Regions from separate parts of the Homo sapiens genome. Here region 2 is linked to region 1. Evidence: promoter capture Hi-C in 16 types of primary human blood cells and fetal thymus (Javierre and others, 2016). All regions are on one chromosome and are shown on one strand. The core of a region is centred on a gene start or on the middle of the fragment in contact, and the rest is flanking DNA. Distances in the headings are between cores, read along the strand shown.

Evidence for each region. Contacts are between HindIII fragments. The CHiCAGO score rates a contact against its expected background, and 5 or more counts as called.
Region 2: a contact is called between a fragment that was not itself captured here and the fragment with the promoter of MARS2 in region 1, in 15 of 17 cell types (naive CD4 T cells, fetal thymus, M0 macrophages and 12 more). The highest score is 14.2, in naive CD4 T cells.

What each region holds. Positions count from the first base shown.
Region 1 is chr2:197,702,284-197,707,432 of GRCh38, reverse strand. It overlaps MARS2 (methionyl-tRNA synthetase 2, mitochondrial), which reads right to left and starts at 2,064. Exons shown (of 1, transcript NM_138395.4): 1 at 1-2,064. The coding sequence starts at 2,027. The coding sequence ends at 246. RefSeq lists enhancers at 1,661-1,780, 1,821-1,870 and a silencer at 2,011-2,250. The HindIII fragment of the contact is 9,491 bases long and covers 1-5,149 here.
Region 2 is chr2:198,294,646-198,299,794 of GRCh38, reverse strand. It overlaps LINC01923 (long intergenic non-protein coding RNA 1923), which reads left to right. Exons shown (of 3, transcript NR_110267.1): 3 at 1-432. Among named protein-coding and RNA genes, the nearest start is that of LINC01923, 78 kb to the left of the region's middle. The HindIII fragment of the contact is 1,138 bases long and covers 1,378-2,515 here.

The sequences.
Region 1 (5,149 bases), core at 815-3,314:
CTCTTACCCATCTTTCCCCTGAAGACATCTTAGACACACAATGCACAAAGGACAGTGATCAATGGTCACAGAGAAATGAATAGGAGCAGGCACCTGAAAGGCTACAAACCTCTTTTCACAGGGACACAGCTTATGTGCTCATTTGATTCCACACTTAAGAAAATACTAGTATAACTTTCCTGAAAATAAAAAATAAAAAGATAACACATTTGCTTTTTTACCACAAGCCGGTAAGAACTGAGTTTCTAGGTCCGGTGGGCTTTCACCAGCCAAGTCCTGGACTGGTCTAGTCTTGGAAACAAAAGCCCAGTTTCAGGTCCCAGCCTCCTCCCTTCAAAAGGGCATGGATGTCCATAGAATCGAGGCAAGAAATAGAGCTCTCCAAGACTCCTCTCTGAGGCAGAGACCCCCAGCCTAGACAGCAGCTTGTCAGCTAGGCTTGGGGTGACAGGCTGCAGCAAAGTCCCAAAGACTCGCAAACATTCCAAGGCCACATGAAGCACAGTACCCAGCCAGGGAGCATCCACTGGGCTCTCCCAGTTCAGCTTCCATGGTGCATGCCTTTGGACAAAACCATTAGTTTGCCGGACACAGCTGGACACGGCCTCCAGAGCCTTATATATCCGAAAGTTATCATAGTGGTCTGCTACCTGCTTTGGCAAAGTGGCCACTGCGCTCACCAGAGCATAATCCTCTGCCTGAGCACGAACTGACGGCCCCACCAACCCTGGCTCACTAGGGAAGCAGGTAGTGCAGAAGGCTGGGTAGGTCTCAGAAGGATTTATTCTTTTGGCAGTGCATCGGTTCAAGAGACCTCCCAAGGCATCTGCCAGCTCGGAGTTCAGCAACTTAACCACCTTTTCATCATAGTAGTCACAGTCCCAGTTGGGGACGCCCTGCCGAAGGAGAAAGTAGCGGAAGCCATCCACGGTATAGCGGTTAAGGCAAGTCCTAGGATCCACCACGTTGCCCAAGCTCTTGGACATCTTTTGGCCACAGACTGTCCAGTGGGAATGGACACAGATGCGCTGTGGCGGGCTCATGCCGGCCCCTAACAGGAAGGCAGGCCAATAGATGGCATGGAATTTGAGAATGTCCTTACCTATGATATGAGAGGTGGCCGGCCACCAAGATTTGAACTCAGCATTTGGGTAGCCAATTACAGTGAGGTAGTTGACCAGGGCATCCAGCCATACATAGATGGTCTGCGAATCATCCCCGGGCACCGGAATGCCCCAGTGCAAGTGGCTACTTCTGCGAGACACGGACAGGTCGGGCAGCTCCTCGTCCAGCCACTGAAGAACTACGTGATGAAATGGTTCGGGGGTGATCGCCTGAGGGTTGCCCCGCAGCCACCGCTGGAGTGGCTTCCGGAACTGGGAAAGCCTGAAAATGTAGTTTTCTTCCTTGGTCCAGGAGACTGGATGCCCGCTCTCGAGAGATACAGGAAACGAATCCCCCGATGGGCCCGGCTGCTGGGTGACCTTGGCCTCAGGCAGGAAGCACTCGTCGGAAGCGCAATACCAACCTTCATAGACGCCCTTGTAGAGCAGACCGCGGGACTTAAGCACCCCCCAGAAGTGCTGCACAGCCACCCGGTGCCGGGCCTCCGTGGTGCGGATGAAATCTGTGCAGGAGATACCGGCCTCCTGGAAAAGCTGCTGGAACTGCTCAGAGACTCGGTCGCACAGCTCGGTCGGGGCCAGGCCCGCGGTAGCTGCTGCCTGCTGAATCTTCAGCCCGTGCTCGTCGGTACCAGTGGAGAATCGCGTGGCGGCCGTGCTGGGACCTCGGAGGCGACGGTGGCGGCATAGGGCGTCCGCCAGTAGTGCCGAGTACAGGTGCCCGATGTGCGGCGCCGCGTTCACGTAGAAAATGGGTGTAGTGAAGTAGGCGCGCACATCACAAGCATCATCGCCGGCACTGAGGGAGCCCGAACTGTAGTAGCGTGGGCCGAAGTCCTCCAGGAGAGACAGCCTACTAGCCCCCGTGCGTCCTAGCAGGCGGAGGACGGACGTTCGCAGCATGGTGCAGACCGGCCGCAAGCGGAGGAGGCGGCGTTCTGACAGCACGTGTGAGAGGCGCATGCGCAGCCGGGTCGCGCCGCAGCTTCCGGCCGGAAAGCCAATGAAACGCGGCCCCGAGCGCCGGCCCTCACCGCCCTCCCCGCCCGGCCCCGCCCCGCCCGCGCCTGCGCCGTCCGCACGCCGAAAGCCGCGGCGCCAGAGGCCGCCAATGGACGGCGGCTTGCCAGAAAAACAGCTCAGAGTTGCCGGGTTTAGGAGAGGCTATGAAAGAAGACGAACCTCTTTGCCTTCGTATAACATACTGTGTTTCCTGCTTTGGATTGTAATTTTATATTTATGAATCTGTTTCCCCCTCTAGGCTGAGCTGCTTGTAGGCAAGAGTTTTATATTCAGCCGTTTGTCTAAACCCCGTCCGTGGCTGGCATACTGCAAGACAGAGTATTGCTCTGCACATGCCCTGTCGATATCTAAAATGTCACCTAAATTTTATCTCAGAGCCTAAATCAATCTGTAAGGGAGGGAGAGAGAAAAAAGATGAAAAATCATTACCTACAGCATTTTGAGAGAAGGATAAGAACTGAGAATGGAAGAGAAGTCTTTAAACAGTTTTTGTTGAATCAACAAAAGTAGATTTGTGATCTGCCAAGTTCTTGCCAAAGTTTATTGAGATCCAGGAAAGTAGAGTGCAATATGCTGTCACTGTGCATATAAAGAATAATTTTCAAATTTATTTCTCAAAAAGTTAATTTTTTTAATGGTCTTGAAGTTCTTTTAAAATAGTGTTTCTCAAGTTTGCTTTTAGTAATGGAACCTTAGAATTTTTTTTAGGGGAGGAAACCTCAGGAGCCCAGAATTGAATTAATGTTAATCCCTAGTTCATAACACACTCTCATCTTTGATCTTTTTTTTTTAATTTAATTTAAGTAGCATATACATTTAATAATAAAATGGAGCAGCTATGAACCTACAACCCAATCTAAGAACTACAAGTGGTTTCAGAGTGTGGTCCCCAGAGCAGCAGAACTGGCAGCACCTGGAACTTCGTTCGATATGTATATTCTTAGGCCCCATCCCCCACATACTGAACCAGAAAACTCTGAGGGTAGGGCCCAGTAATTTAGATTTTAAGGTGATTCTGATGCACATTAAAGTTTGAGAAACACTGAACTAGAAAATTACCAGTGATTTAGATCTGTGTGCTCCTTTTCTTCTCGTACTGTCCTCCCTGAGGTAGTCATTGTCCTGAATTTTGTTCTTGCACATTTGTGTGATCACATACAAAGTATGTCTAAGTAACATTGTTTAATTTTGCTTGCATTTAAATATTCTAAAAAGGATATAATACTACATGTAGTCTTCAACTTGCCTTTTTATTCAACATTTTGTTGCTATATTAATCCATGTTGTTGCATGTAACTGCATTCATATGTTCTTAATACATGTTGCATGTAATTCATTCATTTTGACTGCTGTATAATAACCTTTGACTGAACACATATGGTAACTTGGATCTGATTTCTCTAGTGATATGATGAAAGGTGGACCAATCGAATTCTGTATAAGAGATATAAAAAATAACTTTGGATACTCAGTTGATGTGCTCTTATTTAATCCAGCAGTTTAAGAATGACCTACAACCATCTGGTCTTCAACAAAGTTGATAAAAACAAGCAATGGGCAAAAGACTCCCTATTCAATAAATGGTGCTTGGATAACTAGCTAGCCATATACAGATGAAACAGGACCCCCTTCCTATACCATATACAAAACTCAACTCAAAATGGATTAAAGACTTAAATGTAAAACCTAAAACTAAAAACCTTAGAAGGTAACCTGGGAAATACCATTCTGGACATAGGACCTGACAAAGATTTCATCATGAGGATGCCAAAAGCAATTGCAACAAAAACAAAAATTGACAAATGGGACCTAATTAAAGAGTTTCCGCACCACAAAATAAACTATCAACAGAGTAAGCAGACAATCTACAGAATGGGAGAAAATATTTTCAAACTATGAATCCAAGAAAGGTCTAATATCCAGAATCTATAAGGAATTTTAAAAATCAATAAGCAAAAAACCTCATTAAAAAGGCAAAGGACATAAACAGACACTTCTCAAAAGAAGATAGACATGCGGCCAACAAGCATATAAAAAATGCTTAACATCACTCGTCATTACAGAAATGCAAATCAAAACCACATTTAGATACCATCTCACACCAGTCAGAATGAATATTATTAAAAAGTCAAAAAACAACAGATGCTGGCAAGGTTGCAGAGAAAAGCAACACATACACTGCTGGTGGGAATGTAAATTACTTCAGCCATTATAGAAAGCAGTTTGGTGATTTCTCAAAGAACACAAAGCATAATTATGATTTGACTTAGCAATCTCATTATTGAGTATATATCCAAAGGAATATAAATCATTCTACTGTAAAAAAAAAACGCACTCCCATGTTTATTGCAGCACTGTTCACAATAGCAAAGACATGGAATCTTCCCTAAATGCCCATCAACAGTAGACTGAATAAAGAAAATGTGGTACATATACACCATGGAATACTATGCAACCATAAAAAAGAACAAGATCATGTTCTTTACAGCAACATGGGTGGAGCTGGATGCCATTATCCTAAGTTAACCAACATAGGAACAGAAAGCCAACTATCATATGTTCTCACAAGTGGGAGCAAAACATTGAGTACATATGGACACAAAAAAGGAAACAGCAGACTCTGGGGCCTACTTGAGGGTGGAGGAAGGGAGGAGAGTGAGGACTGAAAAACCATCTATCGGGTACTATGCTTTTTACCTAGGTGGAGAAATAATCTGTACACCAAACTGCCGTGACACACAATTTACCTATATAACAAACAGGCACATGTACCCTGAACCTAATACAAGTTTTTTTTAAAATGGCAAGTGAACATAGGTAAAACTTAAAACTGGAAGGTATATACGGCACCCTCCAGAACTGGCAGATAAATGGAAGCTAAGTGTCTGAGAAACCAGGTTATCCAGAAATTCTTACTATTTTTTTTTCCTTTTCCATTGAAGTACTGCCTCAGCATACAAGTGTGCTATTTTTTCTCCCATTTAAAAAAAAAATTCTCAACC
Region 2 (5,149 bases), core at 697-3,196, 590 kb before region 1:
TGTGAACATCATAGTGTACTTACACACACCTAGACGGTATAGCCTACAACACACCTAGGCTATATAGTATAACTTGTTGCTGGTAGATTACAAACCTGTACAACCTGTTACTGTACTGAATACTGTAGGCAATTGTAAAACAATGGTAAGTATTTGTGTATCTAAACATAGCTAACCATAGAAAAGGTACAGTAAAAATACTGTATAAGAGATAAAACATGGTGTGCCTGTATAGGTTGCTTACCATAAATAAAGCTTGCAGGTTGGAAGTTACTCTGGGTGAGTCAGTGAGTAAATGATGAGTGAATGTGAGGCCCTTGGACATCACTGTACCCTACTGTAGACTTTATAAACACTGTACACTTAGGTTACCCTAAATCTATTTTAAAATTGTTTTCTTTCTTCAATAATAAATTACCCTTAGCTTACTGTAACATTTTTACTTGACAAACCTTTTAATTTTTAAAATTTTCTGACTGTTATAATAATACTTAGCCTGAAATACAAATGAATTGTCTAAGTGTACAAAAATATTTTCTCTCTTTATTTTTATTTTATGAGCTCATTTCTATTTTTAATTCTTTTAACTTTTCAAAATTTTTTATCAAAAACTAAGACTCAAACACACATTAGCCTAGGCCTACAGAGGGTCAGGATCATCAACATCACTGTCTTTCCCCTCCATATCTTCTCCCACTGGAAGGTCTTCAGGGGCAATAACATGCAAGAACTGTCATCTGTGATAACAATGCCTTCTTTTGGAATACCCCCTGAAGGACACACCTGATGCTGTTTTACAGTTAATTTTTTTATATTAGTAGAAGGAGTACACTACAAAATAATGATCGAAAGTATAGTAAATACATAAGCCGGTAACATAGTCATTTATTTTCATTATCAAGGACTATTTACTATACACGATTGTATGTGCTAGATTTTTATATGACTGTCAGCATAGTAGGTTTGTTTGCACCAGAATCACCACAGACACAAGAGTAATGCATTGAGTTATGATGCTACAATGGCAGTAACAAGTCGGCTGATAGGAATTTCTCAGCTCCATAATAATTGTGCAAGACTGCCATCATATATTCACTCTACTGTTGACCAAAACCTCATTATACAGCATATGACTGTCTATATATAAACAAAGAACCATATTTTTGAGGAATTTTAATTTTTTATTTAAGAGTAAAGTGTAATAAGGGTAAAGTGTCTGTGATTTGTTTAAATTCTTCAGAAAAAAAGGAAGAAAAACAGGATAGAAAAAACAATACAGCAGAATCTTGCTAAATGAGTGATGCCAATGTCGGCAAGTTGGGTGATGGATACATTGGGGTTCACTGCAAACTTTATATTTGTGTATGTTTGAAAGCTTTTATAATAAAAATTAAATACAGTATATATTAAATATGTATGCCACTTAGCACTTAATCAAAATTTTTTATCTCGCCTTGTTAGATTTTATTATTTTATCTTGAACAAGTAGCATCAACATAGCCTGGGCAATATAGTCAGACCTCGTCTCTACAAAAAATTTTAAAAATCAGCTGAGCAGGCTGGGCGCGATGGCTCACGCCTGTAATCCCAGAACTTTTGGGGCCGAGGCGGGCTAATCACCTGAGGTCAGGAGTTCGAGACCAGCCTGGCCAACGTGGAGAAACCCCGTCTCTACTAAAAATACAAAAAAATAGCCGGGCATGGTGGCGCATGCCTGTAATTCCAGCTACTTGGGAGGCTGAGGCAGGAGAATCGCTTGAATCTGTGAGGCGGAGGTTGTGGTGAGCCGAGATCGGGCCATTGCGCTCCAGCCTGGGCAACAAGAGCAAAACTCCATCTCAAAAAAAAAAAAAAAAAAACAGCTAAGCATAGTGGTGGACCACACGTAGTTCCACCTACTCAGAAGGCTGGGGTGGGAGGATTGCTTGAACCTGGGAAGTGAAAGTTGCAGTGAGCCAAGATCACGCCACTGAACTCTAGCCTGGGTGACAGACAAGACCCTGTCCCCCCCCACCAAAAAAAAACTCAATATAAGAAGTATTGCTGGTGAACATATAGTGCCCTGCACCTAGAAAAATGAAGCTACTTTCAAGAGATTAGTAGGAGAAGGGATCATTGATGATCCCTTGAAGCCAGGGTCTTAATGAAATTTGGAATGGGAAGCAGCTCAGTTATTAAAAAAAAAAAAAAAAAGATACCCTTGCTGGCACAAGGACGAAGGGTAAGTTATCACTTCCCTTTTTCTAGTGTTAAGTAAATTACATTTAACAAAGATGACTCTTGTCAATTTTGTATCACTTTGACTCTTACGTACTTATGCAGTAAGTTTCTTAGCAGCACTGCTTGCTATAACTTAAACTAGAGAGTTAATAGCAGAAATGCAGCTGTATCTGAAATATGCTACAACTACTCCTCTCAGGAAGGATTTGGAGGAGTAACTTTTAAATGCTTGGCTCAACATCTTAAAGACAAGTTTCTGTTAAGGTGAGAAGACAACAGTATAGAATGAAAAGCTTACACAGCTGGATTCTAAGGCTGACTCCCCAATTAACTAATTATGTGACTTTAAACCAATCACTTACTTTCTCCAACTCTCTCCAGGGTTCTTTGTTTTTAATGAAATGGGCTGGTGGGTGAATTGGACTCTTTCAAGGAGCTCTCCCAGGACAAAGACATGGTCATGCATATTCACCAGACCATATCCAGCATCTAGCACAGCTCCTCAAACATAAGAGGATTCCAATTCGTATTTTAAGAGAACAAAAAAAACCAGAATATCAAATAATTGGTTACATCCAAAAACCTGTCAATCCGGAAAATTTCTCACATTCGTCTACCTCCTTGACCTGGATCTTTTCAGGTTTATCACGTTTTCCCCCAAGAGAGCCTCCAGAAGTGAAGACGGCGTATAATGCAATATGACCACTAGATGGCAGCACGAACCCACCTCAGAATTATCCCTAAAGCGGCCACAGACCCTAGACCAGCTGTTTCAACTGAGCCTGCACAACTGAGCAGACTGTGAATAGTTAAGACTGCCTTGGCTGGTGTCTTTCCCTATACCCTTCCTTTTGTTTTAATTATAAGAAATCTATATGAGTTTCACTATTGATAGGAACATAAATGATCTGTTGTTTCAGCCCTAGGATATTGATATTGCCTTTATATAAATTGTTGATATTTTGTTCATCATGGATTTCCTTTCATTAATTTTGATTAATGCAAATTTTAAGTTACTTTCACCTTAGTCCTGAAAAAACAAGACTGCTTCCAGGGACCATCAAAATAATCTTACAGAGAGACTAGGTAGTATGCATCTGTGGGAGATGCATCTGTGCACACTGGAGACCTCCAGTATATACAGCAGGAGCTCAGTAACAATGTTTTTCAGTGAACCAGGACAAGGATATTCAGTGTATGGGTACTTAAAAAAATGAATGCATGCTCAAAAGGTGAGACCTTCCTTTCCTACTACATGTTTTTTTTCTTTCTTTCTTTTTTTTTTTTTTTTCACTAATTCATGGTCTTCTTCATCACCTCTCTCCTCCTCCTTCCAGAGCTCCATCTGCTTCCCTGGGTACTACATTGTGAGACACTTTGCTCCCTTCCTTTTTATTTATTTATTTTTATTCATTGATTGATTGACTGATTGAGACACGGTCTTGCTCTGTTGCCAGGCTGGAGTGCAGTGGTGTGATCACAGCTCACTGCACCCTTGACCTCCTGGGCTCAAGGGATCCTCCTGCCTCAGCCCCGAGTAGCTGGGACTAAAGGCACCCACCACCACACCCAGCTAATTTTTGTTTTTTTGGTTTATTTGTAGAGATGGGGTCTTGCCATGTTAGCCAGGCTGGTCTCAAACTCCTGGGCTACAGTGATTCCCCACCTAAGCCCCCCAAAGTGTTGGGATTACGGGCACGAGCCACTGCACCCGGCCACCCTGCCCCTTTTAAAAATCTCCTTTCTATTCTCTCTCTGCTGGCCCACCTTACCCAGAGAAGTTTTCTTTAGTTCCATCTCCTGTTCTATTTCATTTTTTCTTAGATCCCAGAGGAATTAAGAAGATGGGGTGGCTGGGAAGGGAAATGGGGAGAATCTCAGAGAATGGAAGGATCAGAGAGCTGGAAGCCAAATCTAGACTCTAAGCTCCTGGGGCACAGAACATCCCCACCAGACTTAGCACAGTGCCTTGCACAAAACAGGTGTACAATAAATATCCATTTGTATGGATGATTACTTGTGTTAATTAGCAATGTGCTCATACAAATAATGAAAAGTCATACAGTAATTTTAAACAATGTCCTATATACAACTATTTCAAGGACTCATGCAAGTGACAACATCCATTAACACTGTAGCTAATTACCTTTGTGCCTCTCCTCTCCTCCCAGTAGCTTCAAGTGCTCAACTCTTAAAAATCCTGAAAGTCAAAGGGCAAGCAGATTCCAGGCTCCCCTTGAACTTTCCCTGAGGCCCAGACAACATTAAGGCCATGGGCACTGCCAAACTCTTTTTTACTGGCATTGGTAAAGCATTGACTGTGGGTGAGGTCCAGGACCCAGGGCTGTATTTTTCACAGATGCATCCTGTGCTTGGTATCTTTACTTTGCACCCCCAGATTCACTCCGCTGACATCTCTGCCTGCTTTCTGGCCTGGAGAGCCCCATCATGAGAACCCTCAAGCCCTCTGGATTCTGGCTGGGTGTAGCCAATAGGAAGTTTTGGTATCACAGGGAGGTTATGACCCTTTGCTCCCTTGCTGCAAGGTTACCTGCAGATGACACTGCCTCTAGAAAGAAGATCACCCCTGCTCAAAGGCAGCAGTCTACAGCCCTGCCTCCTCCCTCCATTCCTAGCAAGGAAAGTTGGTACTACTAGCACTGCTGGTACTATCGCTGTGGTCCTCCGACACAGGCACATGGGTCCTGACCAATCTTTACTGAGCTCTCCACTTGTAGAACACACTGTGTACTCAGAACTCAGGTTTCCCATTCAGATAGACCCAAGCCAGCTTCCAGGGTCTGTTCAAGTCCAATCCTCAGTTCCGTCTCAGGGTGGGTGGGAACTGTGACCCCAGACCCAAGGGCCAGTGGGGCAGTTATTTGTGGAACTGTGAGTGGAGTTTGGACACATGGCCTAGGGTGTCTGG